Linked DNA regions of Homo sapiens: regions 1 and 3 are each linked to region 2. Evidence: promoter capture Hi-C in 16 types of primary human blood cells and fetal thymus (Javierre and others, 2016). All regions are on one chromosome and are shown on one strand. The core of a region is centred on a gene start or on the middle of the fragment in contact, and the rest is flanking DNA. Distances in the headings are between cores, read along the strand shown. Region 1 overlaps NPHP3 (nephrocystin 3). Region 2 holds the start of COPB2 (coat protein complex I subunit beta 2). Region 3 overlaps NPHP3 (nephrocystin 3).

Evidence for each region. The method cuts DNA at HindIII sites, captures the fragments that hold promoters and counts their contacts. A CHiCAGO score of 5 or more calls a contact.
Region 1: a contact is called between a fragment that was not itself captured here and the fragment with the promoter of COPB2 in region 2, in 1 of 17 cell types (total B cells). The highest score is 6.4, in total B cells.
Region 3: a fragment that was not itself captured here is called in contact with the fragment with the promoter of COPB2 in region 2 in 1 of 17 cell types (M2 macrophages); the score reaches 6.2 in M2 macrophages.

What each region holds. Positions count from the first base shown.
Region 1 is chr3:132,717,343-132,721,522 of GRCh38, reverse strand. NPHP3 (nephrocystin 3) reads left to right here. Exons shown (of 27, transcript NM_153240.5): 2 at 1,693-1,818; 3 at 2,379-2,529. NPHP3-ACAD11 (NPHP3-ACAD11 readthrough (NMD candidate)) reads left to right here. Exons shown (of 45, transcript NR_037804.1): 2 at 1,693-1,818; 3 at 2,379-2,529. Among named protein-coding and RNA genes, the nearest start is that of NPHP3-AS1, 2.3 kb to the left of the region's middle. The HindIII fragment of the contact is 846 bases long and covers 2,351-3,196 here.
Region 2 is chr3:139,388,138-139,391,962 of GRCh38, reverse strand. COPB2 (coat protein complex I subunit beta 2) reads left to right here and starts at 2,316. Exons shown (of 22, transcript NM_004766.3): 1 at 2,316-2,415. The coding sequence starts at 2,413. It overlaps COPB2-DT (COPB2 divergent transcript), which reads right to left and starts at 2,160. Exons shown (of 5, transcript NR_121609.1): 1 at 2,030-2,160. It also overlaps the pseudogene LOC124906339. RefSeq lists enhancers at 1,479-1,588, 1,468-2,030, 1,799-2,098, 2,031-2,592, 2,389-2,638. The HindIII fragment of the contact is 7,530 bases long and covers 1-3,825 here.
Region 3 is chr3:132,687,238-132,691,203 of GRCh38, reverse strand. NPHP3 (nephrocystin 3) reads left to right here. Exons shown (of 27, transcript NM_153240.5): 18 at 1-12; 19 at 554-676; 20 at 1,941-2,130; 21 at 2,313-2,554. NPHP3-ACAD11 (NPHP3-ACAD11 readthrough (NMD candidate)) reads left to right here. Exons shown (of 45, transcript NR_037804.1): 17 at 1-12; 18 at 554-676; 19 at 1,941-2,130; 20 at 2,313-2,554. Among named protein-coding and RNA genes, the nearest start is that of UBA5, 29 kb to the right of the region's middle. The HindIII fragment of the contact is 1,194 bases long and covers 1,436-2,629 here.

The sequences.
Region 1 (4,180 bases), core at 1,524-4,023, 6.7 Mb after region 2:
ATCTGTTGAAGCAACTCAGCAAACTCTTCCTAGGAGTTTCACCCCCCTCCCCACCATAAAAATTTTAAGTGGGTCTCCAAAGTGGGGCTCAAGTGTCGGTTTCTTTGTAAAGTTTCATCGCTCTTGCATTTTAATGGTCTTGACATGAAAATTTCTGGAAGCCTCCTGATCTCACCATGGTTGAAAACCTTCTCTAGATGTAGTCAAATTTCCCTAGTCCATTTGATTAATTTACGCTAAAAGCAATTATTGCATGCCCTCCATGTAGCAGGTCCATTATAATTCAATAAAATAGTATGTAAAGCAGCCGGGCGTGGTGGCTCACGCCTGTAATCCCAACACTTTTCGAGGCCTAGGCGGACGGATCACCTGAGGTCAGGAGTTCGAGATCAGCCTGGCCAACATGGTGAAACCCCGTCTCTACTAAAAATACAAAAATTAGCCGGGCATGGTGGCACGCGCCTGTAATCCCAGCTACTCAGGAGGCTGAGGCAAGAGAATTGCTTGAACCCGGGAGGCGGAGGTTGCAGTGAGCCGAGATTGCACCATTGCACTCCAGCTTGGGTGACAGAGCGAGACTCCGTATCAAAAAAAAAAAAATAGTATAAAGCAAGAGGTTGCTTTTCTGTGAACGAATCTCTAAAACTTTTTGCCCTCAGTTTGGGGCCCCTCTGGTCGTTGTTGTGTCGTTTGTGTACTCTTTACTGTGGGAGAGACTTATAGGCAGCCTAAGAGTTCCCGGAGTCGTTACAGTCGGGGTGAAATAAATACCTCAGACTGATTTTTCTAAAAGAAAAAAAGCCTCCTGTCTTCAAGACTAGACATTCTTCTAGTCAGGTTTTGTTGTTGTTGTTGTTGTTGTTTTTGTTTTTAAACTCCCTCATTAGCTGTTGTGTAATTATTGTCGTTGTCTGGGAAGAAGTCCGTGTAGCAGTTTATCTGTTGTCTTATCAGTTTTCCTACTGGGCAACCTTAATGCACTTGCATGTATAAAATGGACTAGTGCATTTCAAATATCTGATTCAATGTATCCAAGCCACTGCCCAACAGACACCGCACGTTGGAAACAACTGTGAGGTGGGGGTAGAAAAGGCCAAACCAAACAGGGCGGAGTGCAATAAGGGTTGGCAAGTGTCACAGTCACTCATGTCACCAATCCTGATTCCCTGTGAAACATACTGGTTCCTTTCTCACATATCGAGGCATGAAAAAACTTATCCATATTTATTTCATTCATTGTGTCAGACATTTACTGGAGACTTGCAGTGTACCAGGCACTGTGAAGTGCTCAAGGGATGGTGAGATGAATAAGACATAGTGCCAACAGGCACACAGTCTCTTAGAACTACTTATCCTTCAAGTTAAGCCTTACAAAATGTAATTTTTACTATCACAAAGATGGAAAAGGCATAAGGAAGTTTAAGAGCTGATGCAGTGTTTCAAAAAAAGTTAATTTCCATTGAAAGCTTAATGTTGGTCTTTATTTGTGGTAGTTCAAGCATGGTTGCGGTTTTTTTCCATCATGTTTTGAATAAAATGGCAACATGAAGTTCCTGATAATTGGTAAAATAATAAGTAGACTTAAAATTCTAAGATACGTAACATATATATATATATATGTATATATATAAGAATGTAAAATTGAGGAGCAAGACTATTTTTGTTAGGAAATAACAAGGTAAATTATTCTAGGCACTTCAAAAAACGTATCAGAAGATACTTCGAGAAAAAGAAAGTGCTTTAGAAGCGAAATACCAAGCAATGGAGAGAGCAGCAACATTTGAACATGACAGAGATAAAGTTAAAAGGCAATTCAAGGTAAATTCCTTACATTTTTACCCCCAAAGCAACATAGAATAAAATAGTATATTCTAAAAGTATATATAATATATAATGCGATGAATAAATAGAAGTAAGTCATGTAGGATTCAGGAAAGTTGTAAGAATTAGTGTAGAGCACTTTCACATTTTTGAGTTGGACGTGGTAAACTTGAGATCATTTCAAAGAAAAACGTATGAAAGTGAACATTTTAATAGTAATTTCGAAAAAAAGGAAAGCGTTTCCATATGGGGAAAAGCATTTGGAAATGTTTAGGGATGTTGTATTATTGGTATTTAGTGGGAGAGAGACAAATTTCCTAAACATCATGCAGTGCACATGACAGACCCACACCACAGACACGCATCCTGCTGGAATTCCAGTGGCTTCCAGTTGCAAAACAGTAAGGTAAAGGTACTAGGACATTCACCCTATGAAAGAGGAAATCGAGGACCAAATGAATATTGGTTTTATGAATGAAATATTTTTCCCTTAAAGTTGATGACACAACTTTTTGATTATGAAAAAGCTTTCAACATTAAAATTATTCTTTTTAAAGATTTTTAGGGAGACCAAAGAAAATGAAATTCAGGACTTACTGAGGGCCAAGAGGGAGTTGGAGAGCAAACTTCAGAGGCTACAGGCTCAGGGTATCCAAGTATTTGATCCTGGGGAGTCTGATTCAGATGACAACTGTACAGATGTCACTGGTAAGTGTATATCCTATTTATATTTTGAGCTTTCAACATGGCTGTAATGACATGTAGAGCCAACTTTGAATTCTGCTAGATTTCTTTTACTTATCTATATTAGGTTATTGCTTTAACTACTGTTGCAAATAGTGTCGTGTGTTCTCTCTGTCAGCTGCTAAGACACCTCTTCTCCACGAAGTGTATGAATTTGGGGACTGAAGTTCCTTCTACCTTGTCACTCTGCCAACCCTAACCCATAACTTTTACTCTCTAGTCTAAGATATCTACCCCAGCTCCCACCAGCACATCTGCATTTTAGCCAAGGGAAAGAAGGAAGGGGAGAACACGTTCCTTTCCCAGAAGGTACAACCTAAGATCACTTCTCAAATCCCATTAGTCAGAACTATAACTGGGAAGACTGGATAGTGTAATCAGCAGCCAGGCAGACATGTGTCCAACTAAAATGTAGTGTTCTGTTACTGAAGAAAGAAGAGGAGAATGGATATTGGAGTTACTAGTCTCTGCAATGTTATTTCTTTACATAATGATGTATTCTTTGCAACTATCATTTAGAATACTTGCCTTATAGTTCACTGAGTGGTTTCCAGTATAGCCTTGTGAACTATTCAAAAAGTATTTGTTTTATAATTAAACAAATGAAACATGTTTTCTGGAAATAAAAGCTTGAAATCACAGAGTGAAAGGGTTTACATATTCTAAGAAAATGTTAAAGTGTGATTGATACTGAAAAAAGAAAAATATTCTATTTTAAAATGCAGTGGAAAAATGTAGTCACTCTCCCATTTGTAATGAACTGTAAGTATATTCTCACAAATGGATGCATTTTGGAGTAAAATATGGTAACTGACAGTTCCTTCTTAATTTTCATTGTAGTATCATTGGAATCTGACCAACATCCTGGAATTTTTATTGCTAACTTTTAAGGAAAAAAAATGAAGGCCGGGCACGGTGGCTTATGCCTGTAATACCAGCACTTTGGGAGGCCAAGGCGGGCGGATCACGAGGTCAAAAGATCAAGACCATCCTGGCCAACATGGTGAAACCCCGTCTCTACTAAATACAAAAATTAGCTGGGCATGGTGGTGCGTGCCTGTAGTCCCAGCTACTCGGGAGGCTGAGGCAGGAAAATCACTTGAACCCAGGAGGTGGAGGTTGCAGTGAGCCAAGATCGCGCCACCGCACTCCAGTGTGGCAACAGAGCCAGACTCATCTCAAAAAAAAAAAAAAAAAAAAAAAAAGATTCTTAATGGCCAAGAGTAGCTGAGAAAATGCTCTTTTATACCCCAACACAAGTCTTAGTGATTATTTCAGTATTGACATACTCAAATGTACAGTGTTTCAAAACTATTGTAATTGTCTTGGCAAGTTAGAAACAAATTCCTTTCTAGGTCTTTTTTCATTTTTGTTTTAAACATGAAGAAGGAACACTTGAGGGGGAATGTCACCCATGTGAGATTCAAAGAGCTACAAATAGTAAGCTCAGTTTTGCCAGAGATTTAGCTCAAATAACCATTTACTTAAGGTTATCAAGGATGTAGATATTCTGACAAATATAATTGATTAGAAAATCATCATGTTCATAAGTAGCTATTGATTCAGACATTAATTTTGTTGCTCTAGGAGGTTGAGAAGGAGGTACTTCCTGCTG
Region 2 (3,825 bases), core at 1,067-3,566:
CTATATTTCTTTTCTTCCCAACGGTTATTTTTCCTAACCTTCCAGTCTCCTCTAAACCAAGTAAACAAAAGATTTTAATTTAAACCCACAGTCGAACGCCTAGTGAAATACACGTGTATATTTAATGTTATGTATTAGTTCCTATTTAAGAATTTTATTTCTTTAAAATTTATTTCAACCAAAATCCAACACCAAATTCTATGGGTAATATCTTAAGGCAGCACCTAGTATAGTGCTTTGTATATAGTACACATTCAGTATGTAATGGTTAAAAGAGTGAATTTACAGTCTACAATTGCAGGACTTAATTTTGGCTAATTGCAGTGGAAAACATGAGAAAAGATATAGTCCAAGTAAGAATGACACTTGAGGGTTCAGGCCCGCAACACCAGCTAGGTAGACCCTTAGGTGGCCCAGTGGTATACAAAGATTTAAGCATTCCCAGCTGAGCCCCTTGACAATAGAGATACATCATTTTATTTTGTATCACTTAGTACTGTGCCAAATCCAAAAATACTCTCTCAAGTGCAAGAGTATTCAGGAGTTAGAAATATTGAAAGTTCCACTATTCAAGCAAATTAGGTATAGTTCATATAATTTTTTCAACTCAGGATCCTCAGTCACTCCATAGAGTAAGCAAAGTATGCAATTACTAGAATTATTAGTCTCAATTTACATAAGATCACACTGCTGGCACTAAACTCCAGTTCCAGACTCTTTTTTCCACTATTGAATGCCACAGAAACATAAAAAAAAAAAAAATGGAAGGATCTTTAGAAACCATGTAGCTGGATTTTTTTTAAGATGATGAAAACTGAGGCCCATGAAGAGAGTCACATTAGCTCAAGGCTCCTACTAAAGCCAAATAATTTCGTGCAAAATCATCTCCCTCTGATTATCATTATCTACACACACAAATACATAATTTTTCTTTTTGCCTTTCTGAAAATCTGGAGGTCTGAAAAGACTTTAAGATTTCTCTCAAGTTAAAAATACACGTTTGTACGTGTAACCAGAGGGCAAGTTTTCTATGGTCCACATGTTTTCTTAAAAAAAAAAAAAAAAAGGAAATACAGGAGATGTGCAGTGCGTGTGACAGGCAAATGTTCTCGAACTTTATTGTGTAGTGTAACCCCTATGGCACAGGCCCTTAGAATTCAGCCACATTAATGAAGAGATATTTTTATGTAGTAGAAAGAGCACAAACTTTGAGGTGTTTTGTTTTGAGACAGAGTCTTGCTCTGTTGCCCAGGCTGGAGTGCAGTGGCGCGATCTCAGCTCACTGCAACCTCCACCTCCTGGGTTCTAAGCGATTCTCCTGTCAGCCTCTGGAACAGCTTGGATTACAGGCGCCCGCCACCACGCCAGGCTAATTTTGTATTTTTAATAGAGACGGGGTTTCACCATGTTGGCCAGGCTGGTCTCGAACTCCTGACCTCAGGTGATCCACCCGTTTCGGCCTCCCAAAGTGCTGGGATTACAGGCGTGAGCCACCGCGCCCGGCCCAACTTTGAGGTTTTATCTGCCACTTACTATGCAGTCTTGGCTAGAACACTTAACTTCTTTGAGCCCGAGTTTCCTCATCATTAAATGGAGATAATTCAGGTTTGATGTGAAGATTTGAGAAGAAGGTATGTCTGACACACTGCCGAAGATCGATAAATATTTGTTGAATGAATAACACAGCCAGCCGAAGCTCAACAAAAGACACATACACAAACACACCCACACGGTTGGGTAGTTGCCGTCTCCCGGGGAGCTCCAGAAGTGTAAGCTCTCAGCCCTCCCTCTGACTTCAGAAGCCTGAAGCTACTAAGCCCGCAGCCCGGTGCGTCTCTTCGCAGCCTTAATCAGTGCCCGGGCAAAGGCCTGCAGAGAATTCTCTGGGCCTCGCACCAGGCCCCAAGAACACACTGGAGACTCGTTTCGCCTTCTCCCTCGCCGTTTCCCCCCTCCAGGGCCAGAGTCCGAGGAAGCCCGATAGCGGTTCTCGGCCTCCGAAACACAACTACAACACTGGGGAGCTTGCCCTGCAGTTAGCGTCCAGCGGGGATTAGGCACTTCGTTTTCCTCATCGTTTCAATCTCTATCTTCTGGTCGGGGTCCAAGCTCAGCGGCACCACGTCACGGCCCTTAGTGGTCTAGGCCACACCCCTCCTTCCCGACAGCCTCAAGTCCACTACCAGCGGTCTGGAAGGCCACGTTGCCTAGGAAACTGGGGCGGGGCTTGGGAAACGACGGCCCTGCGCGCAGTTTGCGCAGGCGCTCCGGCCCTGGCCTCTGACTATCGCGAGAATCGGCTCCCGGAAGTTCCACGTCAGTCAGTCTGACGGTCAGTGGATCGGTGGGTTTATCTCAAGGCCTGAGTAGCCGGTAACAAACGAGGGTTCCCGGGATTGGACCGACGCAGCCATGGTAGGTCCAGATCCCGTAGAAGGGAGCGGGGTCCCATAGGTTACGGCCGATTCCTGGAGCTTCTGGACTGAGGGCCGCGGTAAGCAGTGGTCTGGGCTCCCGCTGCGGCCGCCGCCTCAGGCCTTGCGGGGTCTTGGTCGTTTGATTCCAGGAAGGGAGAAGGCGGTGGGGCCTAGGGGACCGGGGTGATTTGGGGAGGCAAAGCCTGCTAGTGAGGGGTTTTGTCTCCCCTGGCGCTTGTGGCGCTTGCCAGAGCTCCTGCAGTCTGCAGCGGGATCGGTGGTGTAGGGAAACACAGAAGCCGAATGTGTTGAACTCCGTAGGAGGCTTTGGTAAAACTAAAGTTTGCCTTTAAAACGGTGGTAGTTAATCTACACTCCTGTTGGGCTTATTCTGGGGATAGTGTGTGCTGGCTACAAACTATAAACAAGCAAAGAAGCCAAAAACAAATGTATATGGAGTCAAAAATGGAATTTCAAATGCTTTGATATCTCAGCTGTTAGGTTTCTAAGGGGAGAAGAAGGGTTGGGAGGAAGGGGGTGCTGTTTATAACACTGGCTGGTGTGCTTTTATGCATTTGCAAATCCAGTGGCTGGTAAGAATAGTAATTGTTAGAGCACTTTGTTATTATCACCGTAACCCTAAAAAACGCCCTAGACTAGTTTGCACAAGAGTGTTATAATAATAAGGAAAGAAAACGATAGTATAAGAATATCTTCCGTCTCTATTGAAAATGCAAAAAAAAAAAAAAGAAATTAGCCGGGCGTGGTGGCGGGCCCCTGTAGTCCCAGCTACTCAGGAGGCTGAGGCAGGAGAATCGCTTGAACCCGGGAGGCAGAGGCTGCAGTGAGCCGAGGTCGCACCACTGCACTCCAGCCTGGGACAGAGCAAGACTCCGTCTCAAAAAAAAAAAAAAAAAAACTTGTTATGAAGCACAGAATCAAACATTTTGGAGCTTGAAGACGCTAGGGATTAAGTCCCTCATCTTAAGTTAAAAAATTTTTTTAAATTATGTTTCTACAAGGTTAATTGTGGCAAAGTTGGAACTAGGAAAAAGTTAGGAATACTCCCAGGGAAAATGCACAGAGAAACAAACATTTTTGCATAAAATTCAGTGCATTCATTCACAGACACCCCCCCCCACAATCCATGGACCTTCTTTTTTTTTTTAATTTGTTTTATAAAAAATATGGAACGCTTCACGGATTTGCGTGTCATACTTGCGCAGGGGCCACGCTAATCTCCTCTCTATGTGCTGCCGAAGCTAGCACTATCCGTGGACTTTCTTGGGCACCCAGGTTACAGTCCCTGAACAAGACCTCAAGCCTCTTAATTAGAGCACTTCGTATTACTAACTACCTGATGTAGTTTGGGTCTGCTGTGGTTGCAGTAATGGACGTTTTTGGAAAA
Region 3 (3,966 bases), core at 783-3,282, 6.7 Mb after region 2:
CTTGCAGCTAAGGTATTGTAAATGTTCCTGTTGTTCTTCTGTAACTTCTGCAACACACTACCTTTGTGTCCTTATTTCTGTTTCTTAGCTTACAACTTAAAGTACAAAAACTTAATTATTACAAAAAAGATTAAATCCTCTCCCTATTCTGTTAATGTCAAAAGAGCAAAAGATGATTTTGTCTTTTAATATTATGCTAAAAGTTTAAACAAGGAAAATCAATGTAGGATCATTTTATTATTTTTATTTTATTCCAATAGTTTGTGTCCATGTATCTGTATGTGTATATACGGGTCCATTGAGTGTTTTTTTAAATAGTTCAATTTTAGGAAAATACTTTTAGAGTTTGGTTGATGGTTCTGCATATCACTGAATTTATTTTCTTAGATTGGTAAAGTCTCTGATTTTGACCTAACTTTTTTAGTATTAAATTATACTTAAAGAATCAGAGATATATGTTAAATATTTTTCTTCCTTTGACATTTGCCTGAAGCCTTTTTGAAGCAGTCTCATTGTAGGAAGATATTGAATATTGTCTCCTCTCTTTTGATAGTCAGGACAGAGTGACTTGGAGAAGTGCAGATGAACTCCCGTGGCTTTTTCAGCAGCAGGGAAGTAAACAGAAGCTGCATGATTGCCTTCTTAATCTCTTTGTGTCTCAAAACCTTTATAAAAGGTAAGAAACATTATAGAACATCTTTCCCCAGAAAGAGAGATTTAAAGTTGTTCAGTTTAACAAAGAAAAAATGGTATTTTTAATTTAAAAATTAGTCTAAGTATCTGAAATACAAATAGTGTAGGAGAAATCTTGAGACAATTTACAAATCTCTATTAGATCTGCTTTTCCCAAGAGGAAAACATAGAGTACTGCTGCTTTATGAAATCAGAGCTGGAATGATTTCGGTTCAACTTTTTATCTTATGCTTACATTTAAGCATGTCTAAATTTAAACCACTCAGAGAGGTGGTTCGTAATGTCTGCTTCTTTGGGCCTTCAGATATCTGAAAGCGTAGCCTTCAAACCAGACTCGGGTCCAAGTAGAATCTGTCTGGTGTTGAATTTATTTGTTTTTGTTTGTTTGTTTACTTTCTATGTCTGGTGTTGAATTTAAAGAAAGAATTACCCTAATTCAAAAATGTATTCTGTTTGTCTCTTTTGATATGTTATAGTTTGTCAGTGGCAGAACTACCTTTTTATGAGGCAACTGTCTAACCTACTAAGCTTCATGAGGGTTTTTTTCTGCCTTACTTAGAGATTTAGACATTTCTTATACAATAAGTATCATAATTTATTTTGCTCCTACATAAACTCTCTCAAATTTGTTGCATCTCTTATTTCTGATCTCCATTCCAATTTTTCATGATTCCTTTGAAATCAGATATTTTTTAGTTTACCAGCCCCATACTACTTAAGATCGCCTACAGATGAATAAGCTTACTTTTGTCATTCAATTTCTTGATGAAAATACAAAGTAGATACTCTGTGACAGTTTATTTTTTATTAGTTTCTTCTCTTTGAATTTCCATACTTAAAATAATTTTGGGAGTGAACTCAGTGGTTGGCTCCATATTGTGAAATGTGTAAAAAGGATTCAGATAGATTCCCATTGGTAAGTAGCCATGATGGTATTAAGGATAACAGCCAACACCGTGGAGTACTTACTGTGTGCCATAATCCCCCTACAGTACCAGCTGAGGCAGGTAGTGTCTCCATTTCTGCAGATGAAGGTGATGAGGTCTAAGAGGTCAGATAACCTGCTCAAGATTACATAGCTAGGATAGTGGTGGAATTCAGATAGTGAGTGGTCTGAGTCTTACCTCATTACACAGTACTCGCCTACTAATAAATTGTCAATAACTTGATATTAATTCTGGAGTTTTGATTCTGTAATGGATTTTAAAGTGTGTTTTTCATTAAAGTACTGTTATTTGTTGAAACAGGGGACACTTTGCTGAGTTGCTGAGTTATTGGCAGTTTGTTGGCAAAGACAAAAGTGCAATGGCAACAGAATACTTCGATTCATTGAAGCAGTATGAGAAAAACTGCGAAGGCGAGGACAACATGAGTTGCTTAGCTGATCTTTATGAAACCTTGGGGCGATTTCTCAAGGATCTAGGCCTTCTCAGTCAGGTAAGCTCAGCAGATCAATGGCAAGCCAGAGACAGGTGGGATTTTTGTGTTCACTCTTCTCTTTTTCCAAGATGTTAATGTGGTTTTCATTTGTTGTGCTATAATCCTTAATATTTAATCAGATGACAGATCTTGCAGCATTTCACTCACTTTAACTGGCCTTTCACCCCTTTTCCCCCCAGGCCATAGTACCTTTGCAGAGGTCTTTAGAGATTCGAGAAACAGCTTTAGATCCCGATCACCCAAGAGTAGCCCAGTCCCTCCACCAACTAGCAAGTGTATACGTGCAGTGGAAGAAGTTTGGCAATGCAGAACAACTGTATAAACAGGCGTTGGAAATCTCAGAAAATGCTTATGGTGCGGACCATCCATATACTGCTCGTGAACTTGAAGCACTTGCAACTTTGTACCAGAAACAAAATAAGTAAGATTTTTTAGATCAGTAATACCTGATTTTATGCAGGGGGATTACAGTTTTAGTGTACTTATAGGGTAAGCTTTGTTTTATCACTGTGTACTTTTCCTTACCCTGTGCCTAGTCTTCATGTGGTAAACAGAGAAAATGAGAACTATAAGATTCATCTCTGTTTGAAGATGCATGAAGGATAGAACATGGACTTTCGAGTCATATAGTCTTGGGTTTGAATCCTGGCTCATTCACTGACTAACTTTGAGTGCTTTACTAATATAGGTTTAGTATCCTTTATCCAAATGTGGAACCAGAAATGTTCAGGATTTTGGATTTGTTCAGATTTCAGAATATTTGCATATATATAATGAGATATCTTGGGGATGGGACCCAAGTCTAAACATGAAATGTATTTTTCATATACACCTTATACACATAGCCTGAAAGTAATTTTGTGTACTAGTTTTAATTTGTGCATAAAACACAGTTTTGACTGTGGCTTGAGTTGACCCATCACTTGAGGTCAGGTGCAGAATTTTCCACTTGTGGCATCATGACAGCACTCAAAAAGCTTCTGATTTTGGAGCATTTCAGAATTTGGGTTTTCAGATTAGGGATGTTCAACCTTTATGGGGCCAGCAAACCATTGCCCATAGGCCAAGTCCAGTTGTGTAAATAAGGTTTAAAGGGAACACAGCCAAATTTTTTTCATGTATATATTATCCATGGTTGCTTCTGTGCTTCAGTGGCGGAGTTCCTCACTTGGAACAGAAAGCACACGGCCCACAAAGCCTAAAATATTAACTCTCTAGCCCGTTATAGAAAAAGCCAATCTCTGGTATAATAAAAAGTCTTTCTTATCTATCAGGCACCCAATGAATGGCATCTCTTCCTCTATTAAAAATTATTTCTTTTGCTCTATCATAAGTGATACATAATGGAATTTTTTAACTTATAGAAGTATTGCTTCGTACAAATTTTGTGTGAATTTCACATTTAAACTTGACCAGAAATTAGCCTGTGCAGAAAAAGTTGTTAATTAAAAATTATTAGTGTGCTATAGAAAACTGAAATTTTGACTTTTCATTTAGTTAGGTTGCCCTTCAGAGACTTAGGATGAGTTAAATTAGTTAAAGATGATCAGATGTCAGCTACTTAAAGGACTAGACTTGCTTTGTTTTGTCAAAATTTTTTTAATTGAACAGAACTTTTTATTAGAAAAACATCCATGATAGACTAAGATATCTTAGTGTTTTGTCATATTTTGTTTTATGAAAGGGTTTTTAGAGATTCTTAATGTCATGACTATCATTTCTAGAAAAAATGCTGTATTTAATAGCCCAAAAAGACTTTACACTATGAAAAGAGTGCTTTCATTTCACTGAAGTATACTTTGAATATGTTTCTTTTGTTTGACTTACTGTAAT